2 separate regions of the Homo sapiens genome follow, and region 2 is linked to region 1. The links are contacts of gene promoters, found by promoter capture Hi-C in human tissues and cell types (Jung and others, 2019). All regions are on one chromosome and are shown on one strand. Each heading gives the region's core, a stretch centred on a gene start or on the middle of the fragment in contact. The rest is flanking DNA. Distances are from core to core; before and after follow the strand shown.

Region 1 (6,705 bases), core at 2,140-4,639:
GGGACACAGGCGGCCAAGAAAGTTACGGGACCCGGCAGCAGACGCCGCGGGGCGCCCGGACGCGGACGCCCAGCCCGCAGGGGCCAAGGCCGCCGCCCTCGTGGGGCTGCAGGAGGCAGGGGACGCCCTGTCCCCCCATGGGGGTCCAAGGCGCCTGCGGTGGCCACAGTCTTTGGGGAGGTCAGTGCGCTCCCTGGCGGGTCGCCGCACAGGTGGGGGTGCATCACAGCGGCCCCGGGGATGATCTGAGATCCCCGAGAGGGCCCGGCATCACGAAGGATTCACAGCCTTCCGGGTATCCCAGTGCCCCTGGGACAGGGCCGACAGCCAGAGGGCGGGAGACCATGGGGTCCTCCGGGTGTGCCATATCATCTGCCTCTGTGCGGGGCGGGCTGTCGCTGCGCCGGTCACATCCCCCCAGGGCCAGACGGGAGGTACCGAGGGAGCTGCCGGCGGGGACGGGGCGGCGGCCCAGGTGGCGACACGCGCGACGCGAGCAAGGACTCCTTGGCAGGCGAAGGCACAGGGTGAACGTGCGCCTAGATGTGGGAGCAGCGGCCGCCCTGCCCAGCCGGCGGGCTCAGGCGGCGCTGCAGCGCCCCCGCCGTTCGCGTCGCTGCAGCCTCCGCAGGCGCCGCGTCCACGCGTCCCTCCAGGGTAGCACGAGGCTTCCGCGGGCGGCGATGAGCCCGGGCCCCCGGCCCCCCGCGCCCCCAGCCGCGGCTCCAGGCCCGCCCCCCAGCAGGAGGTAGCGGCGGCCGGGGAGCAGGCGCGGGCAGCCGCAGGCCGCATCCCCGGCGGGCACCCACAGCGCGCTACTCCCGCGCCGCGCGCGCTCCTCTCCGCTCCGGAACACGGCGAGCACCGCCACCGGGAAGCGTGTCCACGCGCCGCGCGCCTCGCCGCGCGCACCCACCGCCACCTGCACCGCTGCGGGGAGAGCGAGAGGGGGCGGGGTCAGGAAGGGGCGGCCTGCCCGCGGTAGGGGGAGGCACGGGGAGGACACCAGGAGGGCAGTGGGGGCTGAAGGGGCGGGGTCGCTGCCCGTGGAGGACCTGAGGGATGAGGATGGGCCTTGGGGCCCAGCAAGGGTCAAGGCGTTCCAAGGGGAAGCTGGCGGAGGAGGGAAGGTAGGGAGAGGAGGAAGGTGGGAAGGTCCGCGGGAGGCCTGAGGGCACCTACCATAGTCCTTCTTGCAGAACTTCTTTAGGCTGATGCGGTAGCTGCCACGGGCAGGTTTGCAGTGCGAGTCACAGTCTGGGTAGAAGGTGGGAGGCTGGCACAGACTCCCTTTCCCCACCCTCTCCTCCCAGAGCCCCCTCCCCCAAAGTCATGCCAGTCTGGGGCCCTGTCCTGTGTCCACTCACCCTGGGGCTGCACAGGGCTGCTGTCCTCAGTGGGTCCAGGGATAGGGGTCTCTGCAGAGAGGGAGGGAGAATGGCCTGCGATGGAGGGGCAGAGAGATCTGCAGGGCTCGGGGAATAGACGGGACAACAGCAGGGAGCTGGGGTGGCCTTGGCTTGGTGGCTGAGGCGGGGCAGGGTCACTCACTAACACAGGGCGCCACTGGGGAGCGGCTTTGCTGGAAGCCAGGCGCGCAGCGGTTGCAGGTGAGGCCAGTGACGCCATCCTTGCAGGGACACTGGCCTGTGGTCTGGTTGCAGGTCTTGCCAGCAGCACCAACCGGGTGACAGTCGCAGGCTGAGGACAGAGGTGGGAAGGGCCTGGTCAGAAGCCTGTCTGGGGATCTGGGAAGTCAGAGGGTGAGGGCCTGCAGGTGGCCGGTGGTGGCTCACCCCTGCAAGCCCGACGGTCACTCAGGGCACGGCCAGGGTCTCGATAGAAGCCCTCCCGGCAGTAGTGGCAGTGGCGGCCGGCGGTGTTGTGCCGGCAGTTGAGACAGACACCCCCGCTGCGGCGGCCGGACAGTCGGTACAGCTCCATGTTGAAGCGGCAGCGGCGGGCATGGCCGTTGCAGGAGCAAGCTGCAGGGAGGGATGGGTCAGGGGCAGGCTGGTTGTGTCCAAGGTCCCCAGGCCACCCTCCAAGGCCTCACCGAGGCAGGCGTGGGATTCCCGGGCAGTGGCCCGCTGCCATGGCCTGTCGCAGTAGAAGGGCTTGCAGCGGCCGCAGTCAGGGCCCTCGGTGCCATGCCGACAGTCGCAGATCAGGTGGCCCTGTGTGTCCAGCAGGCACCGTGAGGCATGTCCATTGCACTTGCAGCGCCCGCCCACCTGGAGGTCGGTGGCTGCGTAGGAGTAAGGGACGACGGCCTCCATGTCCCTGGGGTCACCTGCCGTGCTAGGCCTTGTGAGCACTACACGGACGTCGGTGGCGGTCACCCAGTCTTGGAGCACTGGGCTGCTGTCCAGGTCCAGGCCTGGGGGGCTGCTGTCCTGCATGCTGAAGGCCAGAAGGCCGCTGCCATCAGGCTGGGCCAGGGGTGCGGGGAAGCACAGGGCCTCAGGCCCTGGGCCAGCTGGGCCATTGGCAGGGGCAGGCAGACGGCCATAGTCCAGGTCACAGTGGGAGGAGAAGAAGCCCAGCGGGGCCCAGCTGCGGCCATGGTCCTGAGACTTGAGCAGGGCCACGGAGGCTGGGGGAGCTGAGCAGAAGCGCAGGCTCACGAAGACCAGCTCAAAAGCCTTGCCCAGGGGCACCGTGAGAGTCACGTTGAGGGGCGCCCGAGGCAGGGACTCCGAGCGCCAGCACAGAGGGCTGGCCGTGCCCCCTGGGGAAGTAAGGAGGGCGGGGGAGTGTGCCCGTCGCGGGTCGGAGGCGTCGCAGGCCCGAGTGGCCGGCCGCCCGCACGTGCTGGAAGCCAGCACCTCGCGGCCCAGGGCGGCGTTCACCAGTCCTGGCACGCAGCCGCGGGGCGCACCCCCCTCATCGTGGCAGGGGTCGGCGGGCGCCGGCGGCCCAGGACTCAGGGCGGCGAAGAGCGTGCCTGCCGTCAGCAGCAGCCCCCAGGGCCAGCCAGGCATGGCCGGAGCCGCTGCGGGTCAGCCAGTGGCCGGGCCCCAAGACGCTGCCCTTGGGGAAAAGAAGCCCTCTCCGCGGCTCTGCCCACCAGGCCCGCAATGCCGAGGAACAGGGCCCCCGGGCGGCCCCAGCCCGGCCCAGAGGTGGGAGCAGCGGCGGGCACGCCCCGGGCCCAGCACAGCAGCGGGGATGTTGGCGCGTCCTCCCGCTGGGCCTAGAGCGATGACAGGCGTCGCCCCCGCTCCCGGTGCCTCCGCCCGCGGAGGCCCCACCCGCCGCTCGCACTCACCCACCGAGGGCCGGGCGGAGCAGGTCTCCCGGCCTCCCGGGAAGGGCCGTGGGCGGGCGGGGCCTGCGGTGCACGGGCCGCCGCCTCCTCCCGGCTGCAGCGAGGGCGGACGAGCTGTGCCAGGAGGGGGTGGGGGGCGCAGCAGGCGCAAGCCCGGGCCCAGCCGGGGGCGGGGCTGCTCGGGTCGGGAAGGAGGCAGGGGAGGGGAGGGGGCCTCATCGCAGAGCTGGAATCAGAAGCAGATTCAGACGCGGGCTGGGCCAGCGGGGAAGGGGGCTGGGAGGCCCGGGAGCCAGGGGAGGGGCCGGGGAGCCAGGAATGCGCTGGCGGGAGGGGTCTGGAGGGGGGCAGCTCAGCCTTCGCAGCCCGTGGGGGACCACCCAGCAGGGTCCTGGGCCCACAGCCAGGTCTTTACTGCTCCTGGGGCTGTGCCACGTGCTGGACGGGGGTCTGGGTCGCCTCCTCCCTGAAGACCATCAGGCAGGCAAGGCCCCGGGTCTGACAGCAGAGGCCCTGGATGTTCCCCAGGTAGGGAAGCCAAGTAACCACCAGTTGAAGGGTCATCCCCAAAGCAGCATCTACTCGAGTAGAAGGAACCCAGGATTCGGTCAGGTCTAATTTTGAATCCAACTGCCCCATTTCTGGCTGCATGTCTTGGGCTCCTGTTTCCTCACCTGCCAGATGCCTGTTACTCAGCACGCGCTCTGAAGCTGTTGGATTTGATGAGTCTCAAGTGGCATCAGGCCCAAGTCGAGAGCTGCACAAATTGGAGTGTCTCCTGCCCATGTTGAGGAAGGGGGGCACCCCCATGGGCCTGAGCTGGGCTAAGACATGAGGCCAGCATCCCCTGCACCAGGCCAGATTCTGATCCCAAAGCTCCCTGGGTCTGCAAGTTTCTAGGGGCACCTCTGCCACGGGCCCAGCTGGCAGGGAGGACATGGAAGCTGGAGGGTGGGATGGGGTGGCTTCTTGGGGTTCGGGGGCTTGGTTAGCTGTTGAGGACCCCTCTGCAGGGGCAGGGAGTAGGGTTTAATCATGGGAAGGGGCTGGTCGCAACCCGGAGCCCACTGCCCTACGTCACAGCACGTTTGGGCAGGGAAACTGAGGCAGAAGCCCAGCTGGGTGGCCTGGGGACTAGCTGGGGATGGGGTAGCTGTGCCTGGGAGCGACACCACCAAAGAGGGTCCAGGAACAGCTCTGGTCAGAGAAACCTCCTCCCCTCCGACTTTCAGGTCCTTGACAGAGGAGGCCAAGCATCCCAGGGAGGGGCAGGGAACAAGTTCCGTGCAGGGCCAGCATCGAGGCCTGAATGCCCCGTTTCAGATGGGAGGCCAGGCCTGCAGCTGGTGGAGGAGGCCACGTGGGTGCTACCCTGGACACGACCAGAGATGAGCAAGGACCAGGAGGAAGAGAATGGAGAGGTAGACGCATCCCGCTGTTGGGGAGAGGAGGGGCAGGAGGACACGGAAGCCTCCTAGGGGAAACTGAAGGACCAGAGGAGGGAGCAGGAGGGCCTGACCATGGAGGGGAGGAACGGGAAGACAGGGTGATAGGGCACCTGGCTTGGCTCCTGGAGCAACTGACACTGGCTGGTGGGCACCTTCTCCTTGCCACACATCTGCATGTGACAGCCACAGATGCACAGGGATGGGGGCACCGGAGGACTGAACAGAGAGGGCTAAGGGGCTCTCTCTCTGCCACAGGGCCCCTGCCCCTCAGCTTCCTGATAAAGAGAATGGGAATTGTGTCCTTTACAAGTTGAGGGACCTCAACCTGACGGGGCTCACGCTCCGCTCTGTGGGTCAAGCTTAGAACCTGAAACGTCCCAACCACCCTCTTCAAGGTCCTTCTGGCTCCCAACCCCCACCCCCCGACACCCCACCCTAAGGGTGGGAGGAACCCTGGGGGGACTATGGGGGCTGAGATCATCATTCTGGGACAGTGGAGAGAAAAGCCCAGGCCTGACAGAGGGGTCCCACTGGCCAGAGACAAGCCTCTGGGGAAACCCAAGCTGTCTCTGGACGTCAGGGCCACTGCCAGACTGGCTGCCAGCCAGGCTGCAAGAGGGACAGTGGCCAGCAGCCTCTTCCACCCTCATCAGAGGGGCTGGCTTTGTCTCCAGCTCAGCTTCCCTGTGAGCCAGGACTGGGGTCTGCAGAACGTCTGGTGGCTTCTGGGGTGGGGGAAAGTAGGTGCCTGGGGCTCAGCCCTGCCCCAATTGTTCATCTGGGTCAGCAGCAGCGGCGGGAGGCCGTGGGCCCAGAGGGCCATTGTACCGCCAGCTCCCCAGGGAGGAGGCCGCTGGTCACAGGGCCTCTCCCCAGGAACAGTCCTCTGCACACGCTACTCTGCCCCCACCCCCAGCCCTCACAGATGGTGTTTGGGAGTTAGGAAGGGCCTCCCCACAGCGCCCAAGCGGGACTTATTGCTCCCCAGGGACCCAGCCACCTGTCCCAGCCCCTGGCTGGGGCCTCTCCCACCTCCCACCTCTCCACTGGCCCTGCCCCCTCCTGGCACCTTCTGCAACAAAGAAGCTCCGCCTCCCCTCCCCCCACCTGCAACTCAGGCCGCAGTGCTTCGCCTCCCCCTCCCCACCCCACCCCTCACCCCTAGAGTGGCAGCTCCAGCTTTGGGGCACAGGCTGGGGAGAGGGCATAGATGGGCTGGACAGTCCTAGGCGGCAGGGAGCTGAGAGTCTTTCCTGTAAGATGCCCGTTGATCCAATAATTCCCTGCCCAGCCCAGAACCTGCTGTCTCCCCCCAGACGCCTGCAAGCCACCACATGTTCACCTATTGCACATTTATCGAGCGCCTATTATGCCTCGGGGGGTTTCCAACCGAGCTCCGAAGGCAGACAGCCCAGGAGCAGACACAGCGCCGGCTCCCAACGGCGGGTGGTGTGGCCGAGCCCGCGTCGCGCTGCCCTGCACCCAGCACCCTCGCGCCGGGTCGATCCCCCAGCCTCGCAGACCGCTGCCCAGCCAGGCCGCTCTGCGGTCGCGCCAGCTCTGCGCGCCAAGTCAAAAGCTGAAATGCGACGTTGGACGGAGGAGGGAAGAGAGGGAAAGCAGAGAGGGAGGGAGGGAAACGGCCGGTGGCCTTCTCTGCCCAAAGGGTTCCAGAAGAAACGATTTGGGGATGGGGTGTGGGGGGCGGCCTCTGCGACCACGCTTGGCACTGCGCCCGCCCGGCCGGGGCGAGGTTGGAGGGAGGGGCGGCCGGCTCGCGGTGACCTCGATGGGAGGGGGCCTCGCCCGCGGCTCAGGGCGCCCCCGGCTCCCTGCGCCCGGCCCTTCGCCTCCGCCGAGCGCGCCAGCACAGGAAGGCGGCGGTCAGAAGCCCCAGGCCCGCACTGAGCGCGGCCAGCGACGAGCCCTGGGCCAGGTCCAGGCGGGGTCCCCGCAGCGAGAAGGTGATGGCCGTGGCAGCCGCAC
Region 2 (6,705 bases), core at 1,866-4,365, 100 kb after region 1:
TCACGCGAACTTTATTAGCATTTTTTTTTTTAGAGATTTGCCTTACTGAATCTTTCCAAAGCATTCAACTAAATTTTCAAAGGTAACTCCAGTCCACTCCATCTATTTACATAATATTTAATTAAATTACAAATTATAAGAACAAGTACAGGTATAAAGAGATTTAGGAACAAACTTTAAAAAGCATACAACTCAGCAGGTAAAAGATAAACCCAGATTCGCTAGAGAGAAGCCTACCAGCTGCAGTGTGTTGGGAGCTTCAATCTGAGAGTTTTACAGAGGGGATAGAATGTCAGTTAATTTGGACAATTAATTACATGGAGATCAGTTAAGAGGTGGAAACAACAAACTATAGGAAGATGGGATGAAAGACTGATGAAATTTAGAAAGACTTCTTGAAAGAAATGAACTGCAATATAAATTTTGAAGAAGAGCAGCCAAACAATGAGGCCTGCCTATAGGAGGAGCAGAATACCTAATACCTATTTGGGGAACAGAAAAGGAACACGGTCAACCAGAGCAAAGGGACTATGCTTGAAAGGGTGAGGGGAATAGGAGGGATGGAGTGATACGGGTCATTCCTAAATTAAGGACAGTGTGTTTTAATTCTCCTTAATCCATCTACATAGTCATACTAAATAAACATGAGGGAGTTTAGGAAGAAAGAGTTCTATTAGTTGTATTCAGTGTTCAAAGAAGGAAATGACATTAGTGCCCCATTCCCCATATCCCACCTTGGTCCTAGGGCCAAACACCGTCAGGGCATTCTCCCTCCTGGAATATTTCCCATAGTAATGACTCCTCCTGGAATACAACTTGCCTACTCCTGGGTCCTTGCCAAGGAAGAGTTGAAAGTTTGGGTTGGGTCTTAGGGCATCACCTGAATAGAATGGAAGAGCTGACAACATTGATCCTATCAGCGTCCAGGGCTAAATGCTATTCTAGAACTCCCCAAGAGACTATCTTTTCCTGACTCTGCACCAAGCGGAAATGGAACACATTCCTCTCTGGCATATTTCATCTAAGATTCCACTCAGAGAAGCTAAAGCTTAATTACTGGAAAACTGTTTTACTTTTACTCTTTATCTGGGAATGAAAACTGTATTTATGGCTAGGTTGTACTGTTCCATATAAAATTATCTGGAAATTTTTAACCTCTCTATGTCTCAAGTTACTTCCTCTACTAAATAAGAATAATAGCAGTAGTTCTCTCATATAATTGTGTATCATTCAGGATCCCTAAAGGAAACAACTGTTATATTCAAATTACAGTAATTCAAAGAGGGTTTGTTTATAACAGGCACATGTGTGCACAGAGACAGAAAACCCTACAGGATAGTGCAGAAACCTAGGGCTAGCAGCAAAAGCATGAATACCTTCCTTGGATCCAAATGGATGAGAAGAAAGAGAGGCTACCAGAATCCAGAATGGGAGAGTCTTGTAGGGCAAGACATCTTGCGAGAACAGTGACCTTCAGTTAAGGAACAAGCTGAGCCCAAAATGACCTGTAGGGATCTCTCCCTGCTGGCCTGAGGTCAACACAGGGACCTCATCCTCCTACTTCTTCCCTCTGAGGTCCTGCCAGATTCCTTGTGGGAGCATGTGCTGGGATCCCTACAGGTCAGCCTTCAGGGCATCAAGCAAGGTGGTGAATAGTGAAGGGTAGATCTCTTATCATGAGTCATTCCACAAGCATTTTTCAAACACCTACCTAGTGGGAGGCAGTGTGCTGACCAACCAGGAATGACCAGGCTGGACATTCTCAGACTAAAGGCAAGGATTCATGTAATAACAGAGGTGGGATCACCTAGATTGCAAGCAAGTTAAAATTGTGAACAACCTTCCAAGTTCCAACTCACCTTGGAAGTTGCTTGGACACCTAAGCAACCTCCTTTTGGCTTCATTCCTATTCTGGTCATTTTTCATTAGCAGCTTCCCCATACCCCTGTCCCAGGAGAGGCATACACTTGAAGTATCTGGGGTTACCTTCAGTCTTTTCTCTTTCTCCAGTACAATGGAACTGATGATGATGAGCTCAATGTACATGAAGCTGAGTATGAAGAACACAGAAAACTCATTCTGAAGGACTAGGAAGAACCTGTCCTCGATATAGGGTCCATATGGGAATCTCTTCACAAGTACATTGAGATTCTCAAACATGTTGGTCATTGCATTGTGAGCATGGTACCACATGATGGCTTTATCCACAGCATACTGTATGGCCAGGAAGCCTTCTTTGTTGTATCCTATGAGAAAATAGTGAATATCAAGAAATTAAGGTCAGGAGTTCGAGACCAGCCTGGCCAATATGGTGAAACCCCATCTCTACTAAGAATACAAAAATTAGCTGGGTGTGGTGGTGCATGCCTAAAGTCCCAGCTACTCGGGAGGCTGAGGCAGAATTGCTTGAACCTGGTGGGAGGCAGAGGTTGCAGTGAGCTGAGATTGCGCCACTGCATTCCAGCCTGGGCAACAGAGGGAGATTCCATCTCAAAAAAAAAAAAAAAAAAGAAAGAAAGAAAGAAAGAAAAAGAAAAAAGAAAGAAAGTATAAAGATACAACAACTGGTGTTTCAGACGGATCATGGCTAGGCATTCATAGAGACAGACAGCGGTAGGAAAGGCATCCCTAGAGTCCTCACTACAGTGTGGAAGAAAGAGAGGAAAGTCACAAGGGAGACCCCTGGAGCTGAGGGTAATGCATATATGATCCAAAAATGGGGTAAAGGAGCCTGGGCAGGCAAAATAAAAGATGTCCAATACAAGAATCTTTTGAGGTGGGACCACATCTCCTCCCCTTAGTATTCAGACTTCAGGGAAAGAGCACCTCTTCTGCAGTTTTGATCACACAGCACGTATGAGATGGTTAAACTCAAAGCACTCATATGAGATGGTTAAACTCAAAGCACTTGAAAGACACAGCCTCCCTAACCTGTTGTGACCTACTTCTGAATTGTTACCGCTGTTGGGTTTATGGTCAGTGAATTTTACTACTAAGTCTCAAAAACAGTCCTTATCACAAGCAACACTCATTTCAATACAGCATAGTTGGCATGATGGGGTCAGCTTTCAGGAAAAATAGGCTGAAAGGCAAAGATTCCTGGTTCTGGGGTCCTCTAAGAGATAACAGCCCCACCTCCAAGCAATGGTTACCAGGCTCCAACATGAGCAAAGCCAAGGTGGGGTACCTCAACCCCCTCCCAGGAGTAGAGGTGGCTATGGTCTTCAGATGGCCTAGACCTAGGCAGACTCTCAGATCTGTCCAGGAAAAAGAAGGAACAAATTGTTGGTAATAAATTCTCAGAATGGTTACATATTCTTGATTGTGTGTAGGAGTATTTTCACTGCAGAACTGCTGGATCTTTTCTAGAATTATGCAAAACTGTAAGTACTCGGACTTGGACTCTCACTTAGTGTGCACAAAGGCCTGAGGCTTCAAGCCAATATTTGAGCCATTCTACAACAGATGTAGATTACCAGCTTAATTTTCTAAGAAAAGTTAGTTGCCTAGAGGATGTTCACCCTAAACCCCTCACAAAAAGGAAGACCAAAAAATCTAAAGTGAATGGGAGAGCATGAGTCTTTCAAGAGCGGATTGGCCCATGGGCCTTCAGTCGGGAATGTGATGCTTATTGTGAAGGACAGAGGATGCACAGGTGTCAGTGTTGCCCCAGTACTTCTCTAGGAACCTGGGGTTGCCAGAAGCGAGAGTTGGGCAACGCAGGCAGATCCAGGGAGTACTGGGTGCCAAGTTTTAGGTGTTTGCTCTGTCAGGTGCAGTTAGACCCCTTTGCATGGGAGAGAGCAAGCAGATGCAAAGCAGCCACTCAGCAAGGCTCTCTCCTTCACCCTCAACAGAGGGTGACAGAGCAGAAAGTCAGCATGGCTCCCCAAGAAGAGAGGACTATGGCAGCCAGGAGTCAGGACCTGGCTTTGGGACCACATGCCAGCCCTTGGGACAAATAGGAACTCCTGGAAAAACTCCAACCTTCTGGCATTAATTTTCTGTCCTCTTATCCTGAATGACAGACAGGGAAAAGGAGATTTTCCCAGACTAGAAATGCAGATAGGGAGATTCATGAGAGGGAAAGGGAGAGGGCCAGCCAAGACCAAGAGGCCTGAAGAACAGGAACTGGGATTCTGCACCAGTGTTGCAGATGGGGCAGGGAGGATGGAATAAGAATCAAGGCAAGATCTAAAAGCATCAGTCAGAGTAAATAAAATCAAAGTGAAGCATCAGCCAATGAACAGGCCAGAAAGAGTTCAGGGATTCCCCCAAAGCAGGAACAGACTCTTTGGAGCTGCACAGACATGCAGAGAGTCCCAAGAGTGTGGATGATTATCTTCTGTTTCTTCTTCATTAAATTAAATGAGACGGATGAAATGCAAAGGATACAGTCAGTGGAGATTGTAATGGAGGCATGTTAGACATAGATCATACAATATGACATGCGTGTTGAACAGGACATGTGTTTAAAAAGATAGAATAGGGCCAAAAGTGGTGGCTCATGCCTGTAATCCCAGTAGTTTGGGAGGCCGAGGTGGGCGGATCACCTGAGGTCAGGAGTTCGAGATCAGCCTGGCCAACATGGTGAAACCCTATCTCTACTAAAAACACAAAAAATTAGCCAGGTGTGATGGTGGGCACTTGTAATCCCAGCTACTCAGGAGGCTGAGACAGGAGAATCGCTTGAACCTGGGAGGTAGAGATTGCAGTGAGCCGAGATTGTGCCATTGCACTCCAGCCTGGACAACAAGAATGAAACTCCATCTCAAAATAAAATAAAATAACCAAATAGGAGTGGTATTTGCAGGTGGAAAAGGGAAGCCGAGAAAATCTTAAACATGCATAAAGCACAGATCATGTTTCCTCCATGATGACAAATGTCACTGCTAAATTGGCCACCCACTGGTCCCTGCACTCCTTGTTCCAGTAAAATGTTTCCATCCTTCCTCCAAACAATTCAATATTGTTACAATCAAATCCATAACTACTGTTTTTACTTGCTCTAGAATGTAAGCAGTTTACTGAATGTCACATTTCTAAATGTAACTCCTTCAACCTCTTCTGAAATGCTAGTTTATGTGCTGGCAGCAAAACAAACAAAACAACAAAAGTGGCCATGCTCTTTTTTTTTTTTTGAGACGGAGTTTCGCTCTTGTTGCCCAGGCTGGAGTGCAATGGCCCAGTCTCAGTGCACCGCCACCTCTGCCTCCCAGGTTCATGCAATTCTGCCTCAGCCTCCTGAGTAGCTGGGATTACAGGCATGAGCCACCACACCCAGCTAATTTTGTATTTTTTGTAGAGATGAGGTTTCTCCATGTTTGTCAGGTCTCGAACTCCCTACCTCAGGTGATCCACCCGCCTCAGCCTCTCAAAGTGCTGAGATTACAGGCATGAGACACCGCGCCCAGCCACGGCCATGCTCTTAACACGCACAAGCTTCGGGGCTTTCTCACCAGGACTTCCCCCAACAGCAAATGGAAATTCCCGGGGTTCTTGGCGTGGATTGGGAGGGTAAAGAAAGGATGTGCACCAGCCTTCTATGTCATCTTGAAAAAATATATTCTTCCCCAGTATAAAATTCTTCTGAAAGTAACTGAAGCGCAATTGATACTTAACCTATGAAGAACAAAGAGAAAACAAATTCGGTTATGAACTCCTGAAACTCAGCAAAGGCACAGGACAGAACAAATCTGTGCTTGATGTCAGCTGTAACAGGATGAAGGATGCCCACACTGGCAGGTGTCCCCTGGGAGACCATGCTGCAACAGTGGTCTTCCCTGTGTACTCTGGAAATTCTCCGTGGTGCAAGCCTGGGAAACATACAGCCGCTCCTGAGCCCCCTTCAGGAATGGTGTGCTGCAGAACAGTTCAGAGCAAGGGCTCTGGAGCCAGACCACCCAGATTCTAACCCCAAATCTCCTACTGAATAGCCTTGACACCTTGGGCAAATTACATAAACTTCATTCCTCAGTTTCCTCATGAGTAAAATGGGGATATTAACAACGTCTACCTCATAGGCTACAGTAGGATTGAACCAGATGGTATCTGTGTTGCCTAGCATTAATAAATGCTTGAAAAACATTGTTGGTTATTTTATTAACATGTCTCTCTCCATCTACCAATAGCCCATGCAACTTCCAACAATTAATCATCAGATACACTGTACAACACAAAAGCTATACATGAGTGGTTTTCCCATCCCAGAACATAAACCAAATATTCCCATGTTTACAACATGAACTTTTCCTTAAACAAACTCACACTCATACCATATCTGAAGTCCATAAGATTATTAGTAATGACAACAATAACTAATCCTTCTGGAAAGTTATTTTGTTCCAGGCTTTGTTCTAAGCACTTTATAGGCATAAAACTCTTTTAGCCCTCACAACAATAAGGACACCGAGGCCCAGAAATGTTTTTCCAAGGTTACACAGCTGGTGAGTTGCAGGGCTGGAATGCAAGTCTGTGGAGGCTGATCTTGTAGTCTGCATCTGTCATCAGGCAGTTTAATATACGCCATCCTGTACCCTCAGGATAAAGGCTTGCTCACAACAAGCCTTCTAAAGAATTTGAAAACTGGAAGGGACCTCAAAGTCTAGGTTGTAAGACATGAAACACAGGAGCCCTTGCATATCTCCTTTGGAAATAAGATGACAAAGCTGCCACAGAGAAAAGCCGGGGGCAGGTCAGCCAACA

Evidence for each region. Contacts are between HindIII fragments. The study calls those that stand out against the background at their distance.
Region 2: a contact is called between a fragment that was not itself captured here and the fragment with the promoter of NTN3 in region 1, in 4 of the 25 tissues and cell types used here (IMR-90 fibroblasts, adrenal gland, bladder and 1 more).

The regions. Positions count from the first base shown.
Region 1 is chr16:2,467,981-2,474,685 of GRCh38, reverse strand. NTN3 (netrin 3) reads right to left here and starts at 3,389. Exons shown (of 6, transcript NM_006181.3): 1 at 2,057-3,389; 2 at 1,797-1,985; 3 at 1,552-1,701; 4 at 1,368-1,418; 5 at 1,183-1,257; 6 at 541-930. The coding sequence starts at 2,984. The coding sequence ends at 581. TEDC2-AS1 (TEDC2 antisense RNA 1) reads left to right here and starts at 6,473. Exons shown (of 1, transcript NR_135198.1): 1 at 6,473-6,705. RefSeq lists silencers at 348-617, 678-737, 808-957, 3,112-3,251, 6,515-6,564 and 1 more and enhancers at 5,185-5,264, 5,425-5,564, 5,524-6,067. The HindIII fragment of the contact is 12,116 bases long and covers 1-6,705 here.
Region 2 is chr16:2,365,879-2,372,583 of GRCh38, reverse strand. It overlaps the pseudogene ABCA17P. Among named protein-coding and RNA genes, the nearest start is that of ABCA3, 29 kb to the right of the region's middle. RefSeq lists an enhancer at 5,310-5,659. The HindIII fragment of the contact is 6,058 bases long and covers 87-6,144 here.